Regions from separate parts of the Homo sapiens genome. Here all the other regions are linked to region 1. Evidence: promoter capture Hi-C in human tissues and cell types (Jung and others, 2019). All regions are on one chromosome and are shown on one strand. Each heading gives the region's core, a stretch centred on a gene start or on the middle of the fragment in contact. The rest is flanking DNA. Distances are from core to core; before and after follow the strand shown.

The links. Contacts are between HindIII fragments. The study calls those that stand out against the background at their distance.
Region 2: a contact is called between the fragment with the promoter of LSM4 here and the fragment with the promoter of UPF1 in region 1, in 1 of the 25 tissues and cell types used here (dorsolateral prefrontal cortex).
Region 3: the fragment with the promoter of PGPEP1 here is called in contact with the fragment with the promoter of UPF1 in region 1 in 3 of the 25 tissues and cell types used here (adrenal gland, dorsolateral prefrontal cortex and stomach).

What each region holds. Positions count from the first base shown.
Region 1 is chr19:18,830,211-18,833,525 of GRCh38, reverse strand. It overlaps UPF1 (UPF1 RNA helicase and ATPase), which reads right to left and starts at 1,567. Exons shown (of 24, transcript NM_002911.4): 1 at 1,086-1,567. The coding sequence starts at 1,316. RefSeq lists silencers at 954-1,033, 1,044-1,133, 1,284-1,383, 1,504-1,763. The HindIII fragment of the contact is 23,837 bases long and covers 1-3,315 here.
Region 2 is chr19:18,321,461-18,324,775 of GRCh38, reverse strand. LSM4 (LSM4 homolog, U6 small nuclear RNA and mRNA degradation associated) reads left to right here and starts at 1,700. Exons shown (of 5, transcript NM_012321.5): 1 at 1,700-1,758. The coding sequence starts at 1,756. It overlaps LOC105372300 (a long non-coding RNA gene), which reads right to left. Exons shown (of 2, transcript XR_007067157.1): 2 at 2,779-3,042. RefSeq lists enhancers at 559-1,161, 1,360-1,579 and a silencer at 1,640-1,819. The HindIII fragment of the contact is 25,574 bases long and covers 1-3,315 here.
Region 3 is chr19:18,339,053-18,342,367 of GRCh38, reverse strand. PGPEP1 (pyroglutamyl-peptidase I) reads right to left here and starts at 1,770. Exons shown (of 5, transcript NM_017712.4): 1 at 1,653-1,770. The coding sequence starts at 1,686. RefSeq lists an enhancer at 1,213-1,900 and a silencer at 1,732-1,921. The HindIII fragment of the contact is 61,917 bases long and covers 1-3,315 here.

The DNA.
Region 1 (3,315 bases), core at 318-2,817:
AAATGCATGCCCGATACTTCTCCCAACCCAAGCCCCCATTTAAAATACCTAAGTAACCTTCTCTAAACATCCACATCATTAAAAATAAGTTTCCAACGTGGCAGACTCGTTTATGTAAAGCCATTATTGCTGTCTTATTGGAAGAACAAAACTCAAACCCAACTTTTCCAAGGCAAGAGTTGTGAAGTTATGTAACAGGTCGGTTTCAGCAACAGGCGATGCAAGAAAAAACAAAATACAACCTGCTTCCTGAATGATCTTAATAGCCAGCCAATATGTGCTCCTCCATGGGAGGCAAAAATTCTTCTCTGCCTCAACCTTCCGCTGGCCAGCGCCCCTATGCATGGGGAAAGTCGAACCTACGCTCCGTGACTGTGAAAGGTGGGGTGCCCAGATGGCTGCGACCACAGATGGGAGGTGGGACAGGCGGCCAGACCCACCAATGGGGAGACCGGGCAGGACCCCCGGACCAGGCCAGAGACAGGATTAGGGCAGGTCACCCTGGATACTCCCGGAAAGGGACTGAGGGAAGTCACTCAAGCTCCGGCCTGAGCAAGACCCGGCCCAGGTCGTAGGAGAACTCGAGGCAGAATACCGAGACCTGCGAAAGAGGGACCAGGGCAGGTCACCCTAGCCCGGATGGAATGGAAGAACTCAGATAAGTCAGGGGGCAGGTTACTCCAGGCCAGACTGATTGTGGGACACAAGGCAGGTCAGCCCGGGCCCAGGAGGGGGAGCAAACCCAGCTGGCGTAAAGGAACAGGGTCAGGTTAGCTCGGTCCCGAACGAAGTGGAGGACTCGAGGCAAGTCTGCCCGGCCCAGGAGTTGGGGGCCGAAGGAACTCAGCCAGGTCGCGGCCGGAGCGGGGGACCCGGGGCAGATCAGGCCAGGCCCGGGCAGATTGCAGGACCTGGGGCAGGTAAGCTCAGGCCGAGCCAGAGTAGGGGACCCGGGGCAGATCGCCCCAGGCCCGGCCGCGATGGGGGACTCCGGCCAAACACAGGCCGGGCCCGAGGCGAGTTCGGGGCAGGTCTCAGGCGCCGAGGCCGGGCCCGGGCTTCCGGCACCGCCATGTGCCGCTCACCTGCGCGTCGAGCTGTCCCGCCGCAGCGCCCGCGCCCGCGCCGCCCGGGCCTCCCGCGCCGCCACCGCCCGGGCCGCCGGGGCCGCCGGGGGGCGTCTGCGTCTGGCTAGGAAGAGTAAAGTCGGTGAACTCGAACTCGGAGCCCTGTGTGTCGGCGCCAAGCAGCTCGGCCTCCTCCGTGTCCAGGAAAGTGAGAGTCTGCGAGCTGGGCCCGTACGCCTCCACGCTCATGGTGCCTCCGGGTAGGGCCCTCGGGCCGGTTCCGCGCTGCACTCGAGCCCGCCGCCGCGCTGAGGCCTAGGCCGCAGGCCTCGGGTCGCTGCCGCTGTCGCCCCCGCGCGCCCGGAAAGGACCAAACCGCGCGCCCCGGCGCCAGCCGGACCGAGAGGTAACAGTGCCGAGCCGCCGCCGCTGCCGCCGAGCCCCTCCGCGCCTCAGCTCCCCTCGAAGCCGCCAGCCGCTCGCAGCCTAGAGCAGGAACTGCCGCCACCGCCGCCGTCGCCGTGCGCGTGCGCGAGCCCGACGCCGGCGGAAGCGCGCGCGCTCTTCGCGGGCGCCTGGTGCCCAGCAGGAAGACGGGACGCGCACCGCGCACGCGCAGGGGGTGGGGCTTTCAACCGCCGCTGCGGCGGCAGCTCGAGGACTTGGTCCCGCCCCAACTGCTAATTGGGGACGCCCGGGCGGCTGGCGGTGTGGACTTGGTGGTCTGCACCTGTGGTCGCTGCGACGGTGTTTCGGTTTAATTGAGCGCTAGCCGAATACCCTACATAGGTGGTCTCGGAACGCCCAACTGGAGAGACTGGGCAGGGACGGTGCGCTCCCACTCCTGGCAAAAGCTGCTTGGAACTCAGTTTCCCCATCTGTAAAATGGAGGGTGCCTCGCACATAGTAGATGCTCCCTGTGCATTGGTTTAAAAAGGGAGTGGGGCTCGGCGCGGTGGTCACACCTGTAATCCCAACACTCAGAGGCTGAGGCGGGAGAACTGCTTGAACTCAGGAGTTCGAGACCAGCCTGGGAGACAGAGTGAGACTCCATCTCTACAAAAAATATAAAAATTAGGCCGAGCGCGGTGGCTCACGCCTGTAATCCCAGCACTTTGGGAGGCCGAGGCGGGTGGATCATGACGTCAGGAGATCGAGACCATCCTGGCTAACATGGTGAAACCCCGTCTCCACTAAAAATACAAAAAATTAGCCAGGCGTGGTGGCACGAGCCTGTAGTCCCAGCTACTCAGGAGGCTGAGGCAGGAGAATCGCTTGAACCCAGGAGGCGGAGGTTGCAGTGAGCCAAGATTGTGCCACTGCACACCAGCCTGGGCAACAGAGTGAGACTCTGTCTCAAAAAAAAAAAAAAAAATTAGCTAAGCGTGGTGGTTCGCACCTGTAGTCCCAGCTACTAGGGAGGCTGAGGTGGGAGGATCGCTTGACCCTGGGAAGTTGAGGCTGCAGTAAGCCGAGATTGCACCACTGCACTCCAGCCTGGGTGACAGAGCGAGACCCTGTCTCAAAAATAAGTAAAAATAAATGAATGGGGATAGTCTTACGTACTGGGCCTGGCACTTGGAAATGATGGTTGCTGCTGTTCCTGATGCCTCTGCCACTGTTATTATACCATTACTATTTTTGCTATGATTATTATTTAGTGGACGTATACAGCAAAACAACTGGAAGCACATGGTCTGTGGTGGACTCTAGACCTGACCACTTACCAGCTGTGTGAAATTATACAAGTGACTTAACCTCTCTGAGCCTAGGGTTTCTGTTGCCATTAAGGTGGCATAGGAAGCCTGGGCAAGGTGGCTCTTTCCTGAAATCCCAGCACTTTAGGAGGTAGAGGCAAGAGAATCACTTGAGCTCAGGAGTTTGAGGCTGCGGTGAGCTATGATTGTGCCACTGCACTCCAGCCTGGGTGACAGAGATCCTATGTGTGTGTGTGTATATTAATATATATTTATTTATGTTAATATAAATAGAGTGACTAGTAGCTCATTTATTCCTCTCATACTCTCATGTGATATATGGTTGCTGCTGATATATATGGAGCCCGGTGCGGTGTGTCACGCCTGTAATCCCAGCACTTTCGGAGGCCAAAAGAGCAAGACCTTGTATAAAAATAAATTTTAAAAACTCTGATAGGTGTTACTAAATTGATCTGAAATTTGTCTACAAATTCCACTGGATGTGTTCCAAAGAGAGCTTTGCATGATATTAAAATTATCTGTTGGTCTGT
Region 2 (3,315 bases), core at 451-2,950, 510 kb after region 1:
CTCTACCTTGGTTTTTTTCACTTAAGATATCCAGACACCATTCAATGTCAGTATATGAAGATTGTCTTCATTCCTTTTTATAGCTGTATTACTCTATTATTTGGTCGCATTGGGTTTTTTTCAGTCTTTTGATATTATGAATAATGTCAATAAATAGCATCAGTCATTTAAAAACGAGGCTGGGCGTGGTGACTCATGCCTGTAATCCCAGCACTTTGGGAGGCCAAGGTGGAAGGATCACCTGAGGTCAGGAGTTCGAGGCCACCTCCTGGCCAACATGGCAAAACCCCGTCTCTGCTAAAAATACAAAAATTAGCTGGGCATTGTGGCATGTGCCTGTAATCCTAGCCACTCGGGTGGCTGAGGCAGAAGAATCCCTTGAACCCAGGAGGGAGGGGTTGCAGTGAGCTGAGATCGCACCACTGCACTGCAGCCTGGGTGATAGAATGAGACTCCATCTCAAAAAAAAAAGAACAGGGTCTTCGCAGATGTAATTAAGGATCTTGAGATGACATTATCCTGAAATTTATGGTGGACTTAATAAGAGAAAGGAGTGTCCTTTACAAGAAAAAGGAGCGGCCGGGCTCGGTGGCTCACGCCTGTAATCCCAGCACTTTGGGAGGCAGAGGAGGGAGGATTGCTTGACCCCAGGAGTTCGAGACCAGCCTGGACAACATAGGGAGACCCTGTCTCTACTACAAAAAAAAAAAAGAAAAAAAAAAGGAGAGATACATTTGAGACTCAGAGACACACAGAGAAGGCCAAGTGACGACAAAGGCAGAACGCGGAAGGCTGCATCTACAAGCCAAGAACTCCAAGGATTCCCAGCAGCCACCAGAACCCAGGAGAGAGGCATAGGACACACAGATTGTCCTCAGAGCCTCCAGAGGGAGCCAACTGTGCTGACAACCTCACTTCATTATTCTGATCTCTTGAATTGTGAGAAAATCACGTTCTGTTGTTTTAAACCTCGCAGTGTGTGGGCATTTGTTACAGCAGGCCCCAGAAAACTAATAGCATTCGCCTATTTACTTTGTTTACTGTCTGTCTCCCTGAGGGCCACGAATTTTGTGTTTTGTTCATTCTGTGAGCAGAAACAGGCACAGAGTAGGTAATAAGTACTTAATATGTGCCAGACGCTGTTTTAAGTGCTTTTACATGGTTTCATTCATTTCATCCTTACAGTAAGCAACGTTTTGGAGCAGACACTACTATTTACAGGGAGCAAACTGAGGCCCCGAGGGTCGTGGTCAGGATTCCAACCTATTAAATGATGTTCCCTGGATAATTACAGAATCAGAAAACTAGGAGTCGGAAGGGCAACATCAGGCACGGCCCAATCACCACGAAGCCTCGATTTCTCTCTCTCTACTGCAAACGAAAGGCATTAACTGGCTTTGCCCACAGCGTGGAGCCCAGGAGACCGACGAAGGTTTCACCTGCGCACGCATTTCCTCACAATGCACCCCGCGCCGGCGCGCGTTGCTCCGCCTCCTTTTGCATTACAAGCCGCGGCACTTTACGGCTCTCGTCCTCGTTCCTCCGGCGGGAACACGGCCCGCCCCGCCCTTTCGCCCAGCGGGCCCCGCCCTACTCCGCGTGGATTGGTTGACCGCCCTTCGAGCCCGGTGCTGACTGGCTTGCGTCTCTGCCACTTTCTTTCAGCTTAGTGGCGCGCGGCGCGGCGACGACCGCCGGGAGCGTGTGCAGCGGCGGCGGCGGAAGTGGCCGGCGAGCCCGGTCCCCGCCGGCACCATGGTGAGGGCAGGGCAACTGCGGGGTCTCACCGGGAGGCGGGAACAGCAGTCGTTGGGATCCCTGCGGGCGGGCGCTGTGGGCTTGGTTGGCGCGGGGCGAACGTAAGGTCCGAGCCTCGAGTCCCGCCCCCCGGCACGAGGCTGGGAAACTGAGGCCGGAGACTGCAGGTGGCTCTATCACGTTCGTGTCTGGGATTTAGGGTTGCACGGACTTGTATCCACAGTACAGTGGCCTCGCCTTAGTTAGTTTTCCCAGTTTGCAGGTGGGGAAACTGAAGTAAAAAAAAAAAAGGTGGGGATCCGCCAAATGCAGCAGAGAGTTTTTGGGCAGGGAAGGGGTCCCTTACGCTTCGGGCCCAGTCTGACCTCCCTGATTGAAAACTAGAGTGCTGGGAAGTAGGGGGCCAGTCTGAGTTGTGAAACTTAGTTTTAGGAATTTCAGAGCTTGCAAGATGCTAGCAGCACAGCCTCCTAGGCCTCTTGGTTTCTGGCTGAAAAGCAGGCCTGGTGCTGGGGTGTGGTGTTTCTCCTTGGGTCACATAGCATGTCATTCCAGCGGAAGGGGGCGTTTTGAGCTAGGGGTGGACAAAGTACATCCTCCCAATACAAAGAAGGAAAAATTGCGGCCCAGGTCTCTGCAGGGCCCATTGTTTATGATTCTGGAAGTTCTGGATCTGGGCTAGAAAGTGCCCGTGTCCCCCACTGTGCAGATCGGAAAAGGAATTCAGAGCTGGGAGTTTCCTGGCCCATCAGCTTCTGGTCCTTCTTTTTTCAATGAGAGAAACCAAGGCCCTTGTTGGGGATGTGACTTCCAGACTCTGTGAGACAGTGGGAGATTCAGTAACCAGGAGGGTCCCCCAGGGGTGGCTGCATCAGAACTGTGGATTAGTGAGAACTCTCCCTAAATCCGGCTGGTCAGTGTGTAACCACCCAATGGGTTCACCTTGCCTGTCTTCCTAGACAGATTTATCAAGACAGGGGAATTGCAGTGGAGAAAGAGTATTTCACACAGAGCCAGCTATGCAGGAGACCAGAGTTTTATTATTGCTCAAATCAGTCTCCGCTGAGCATTAGGGGATCCGAGTTTTGAAAGATAATTTGGCGGGTAGGGGCTCAGGAAGTGGGGAGTGCTGATTGGTTGGAGCTTCCTGAGGTCGATGGAGTCATCGACGGGAGTGTTGAAGTGAGGTTTTCTTGCTGTCTTCTGTTCCTGGGTGGGATCGCAGGACTGGTTGAGCCAGATTACTGGTCTGGGTAGTGTCAGCTGATCCGTCAAGTACGGGGTCTGCAAAATATCTCAAGCACTGATCTTAGATTTTATAATAGTGATGTTATCCCAAGGAGCAATTTGGGGAGTTTCAGACTCTTGCAGCCAGAGGCTGAAGTTACCTAAATGGTAATTTCTAATCTTGTAGCTTATTTGTTAGTCCTACAAAGGCAGACTGGTCCCCAGGCAAGAAGAGGGTCTTTTCGGGAAAGGGCTATTACCAATTTTGTTCCAGAGTCAAACTATAAACTAAATCCCTTCCCAAGGTTAGTTTGGCCTATACCTAGGAAT
Region 3 (3,315 bases), core at 521-3,020, 490 kb after region 1:
ATCTTCCTGGCATTAAGCCTGGCCACATCCCCTTTCAGGCAAGGGTGTTTCCTAGGCCCAGTTTCCAGGAGCAGGGACTGAGGCACAGAGAGGTGAAGCTAGCTGCCCAAGGTCACACAGCAAGAAGGTGAAAAAGCTGGGATTCAAATCCAGATCTGGGGCTGGGTGCGGTGGCTCATGCCTGTAATTCCAGCACTTTGGGAGGCCAAGGCGGGCGGATCACCTGAGGTCAGAAGTTTGAGACCAGCCTGGCCAACATGGTGAAACCCCGTTTCTACTAAAAATACAAAAAATTAACCAGATGGGGTGATGCGTGCCCGTAATTCCAGCTACTCAGGAGGCTGAGGCAGGAGAATCGCTTGAACCCAGGAGGCGAAGGTTGCAGTGAGCCGAGATCGCGCCGTTGTGCTCCAGCTTGGGCAACAAGAGCAAAACTCCGTCTCAAAAAAAAAAAAATACGGTCCATCTGGGCCAGTGATCCCACAGGATATGAATGCTATGCAGAGATGCTGTAGCCTGGGATAGCAGGTAGGGGCTGTGGCTCAGGAGGGGACCTCCTAACTCTATCCTTCTGTACAGCCAAAGTTTGAGTCTCAGCTCAGCCCCTTACAAACTGGATGACCTCTGTGAGCCTCAGTTTCCCTTTCTGCAAAATGGAGACAGTAAAGATGTAATCAGCTCATGCAAAAAGTGCTGGAATAAATAACCAGATAAAGGAAGGCTGGAAGGGATGGGGGCAGTGACCCTCCTCCCAATTATACACACCTGTTAAGCAGGTGCCTTGTTTCTTCCTTCTTCCCTGAATCTCCTGGATCAGCCTCAATCTCCCTTCAACAGCCACAAAACACCTGTGTGCACCTTTGCTGGATTTCCCACTCTGACCCCTCCAGACAGCAGGTCAAAATGACCCCCCCACTCCTTGACTCTGAGGCCCCAGCGGAAGTTGGCGCCCCACGTGGCCCCGAGGCGGAGTCTCAGGGAGGAGAAACAGTTGGTTTGGGGGTGGGGGGGAGTCGGTGACAGCAGGGGCCCTGACTCACCAACAAACAGCCCTGGCACAAAACACAAAAAGGTTTCCGCTGAAGACAGTCCCTGGGACAGCTGGGAGAGCCCGAGGTCCCCGGACCCCCACCTGCCCCTGCCTTGGGAGAGTAGCCCCCCAGGAGCGCAGGGCGCGGCGAGCAGTGACTGGGAGGTTCATTTGTCACTGGGACACTTCCTGCCCGCAAATCGGCCTTTGTCCCCTGGGGCCAGGGGTTGGGGGAGCGGTGTGGGGACAGGCTGGACCTCGGAAGGGGCAGGGAGGAAGGGTCCAGTCCAGCCCGCAGGCCAGACAGAGGAGGCAGGTGCCAGGAGGGTCACCATCCCCACCTTGGGAGGAAAGGACGCCAGGGGGGCCTGCGCAGCGCCGGGCTTTTGCCCGGCCCCCCAAGCCCCGCGCCCGACTGCCCTGACTCCCGACCCTGGGACCCCCAAGGCTCCTCCTCCTCCACTTTCCAGGAAGCCTGGGCTGCGCGGGGCTCCCGCGGGTGATGACACCTTCCAAATCTGAGAGGACTTCCAGCACCTGCCCCTCTCGGCCCCGCAGTCCCGGAGCCGCCCCCGCCTCTGCCCCCGGCCGCTGCCGCTACAGCCCCCATCAGCCAGCGTACCCGTCACTACCACCGCCTTCCTCGGCTGCTCCATGGCGGGATCGGGCTGTGCCTCGGACCTGCTTCTGTTGCGACTGGCGCGACAGCTGCTGCCGCTGCAGCCTCTCGGCCGCGCGAGGCCACGCCCCTGTCAAGCCCCCGGCCTCGCCCCCGGTCAGCCGCTCGGCGTGCGCGCCCCCGGGCCCGAGACGCAGCGTGCGCGCCCTGCGCCCCGCCCCCGTCGGCTAGGCCCGGTATTCCCCAGCCTCCGTTTCCCCGTCTGCAAAATGGGAACATCTTATGCCGTAGTGTGTAGCCGCTTGCACGCACTGAGCCAGGTGCTGGGGATGAGCCGGTCCTTTATTCTGCAAGGGTTCATTGAGGGCCTGCCCTATGCATGCATACTGCGCAGAATTAGGGAGGGAAGTCCCCGCGAGCAAGGCCCGTTTTCCAGATAAGGAAACTGAGGCACAGAATGCCACTTCCCCGAGGTCACTCGCCTCAAGGGGTCACAGGAGCAGCATTCAGGCCAGGAAGTTGGCGGGGGTGGGGGAGGACAGAGTAAAAAAGGAAAAACACGACAACCATATTTGTGTGGTGCCAGAAGTTTCTCTGCAGGCCCCCATGGTCCTAGGAGGCTAATGGGGGAGGGCGATTGTACCTGCTGTTCCCTCTGCCGGAACACACCCCGCAGGTACCTGCGAAGCTGGCCTCCTTCAGGCCTCAGCTCCAGTGTTCCAATGTCGCCTCCTCCCAGGGGCCCTCCTCCTGTCCTGGCTGTCACCTCCTCCGAGGGGTGAACTGTCACTTTCTCCTTGTGGCCTTCTCTGGCTATCACCTCCCTGCTATCCTATTACCTCCTCTGAGGGTTCCTTCTGGCCCTCCTTGGCTGAAATGACCTCACTGCTACCCCCCAGTGGTTCCATCTCATTCCCTGGTTCCATCCTCTTCATAGCAATAAAGCTCAGAAATAATTTCCTTTCTCTCTCTTTTTTTTGGAGACAGGGTCTCACTCTGTTACCCAGGCTGGAGTGCAGTGGCAAAATCATAGCTCTGTAACTTTGACCTCCAGGGCTCAACTGATCCTCACATCTCAGCCTCCTGAGTAGCTGGGACTACAGGTGTGTGGCACCACACCCAGCTAATTTTTGTATTTTTGTAGAGATGGGGGTTTCATAGTGTTGCACAGGCTGGTCTCGAACTCCCGAGCTCAAGCAATCCGCACACCTTGGCCTCCCAAAAGTGCTGGGATTACAGGTGTAAACCAGCACACCTGGCCAGAAATCATTTTTAATTTTTTTTAGCTTTTAAGTTTTGGGGTACATGTGCAGGTTTGTTATATAGATAAACTCGTGTCATGGGGTTTGTTGTACAGATTATTTAGTCCCCCAGGTATTATTAAGCAGAAATTATATATGTATTTATTTATTTGAGACGTAGTTTCACTCTTGTCACCCAGGCTGGAGTGCAGTGGTGTGATCTTGGCTCACTGCAACCTCTGCCTCCCGGGTTCAAGCAATTCTCCCACCTCAGCCTCCCAAGTAGCTGGGATTACAGGCGAGTGCCGCCATACCCAGCTAATTTTGTATTTTTAGTAGAGAGGGAGGTTCACCATGTTGGCCAGGCTGGTCTCGAACTCCTGACTTCAGGTGATCCACCCTTTTCAGCTCCCAAAGTGCTGGGA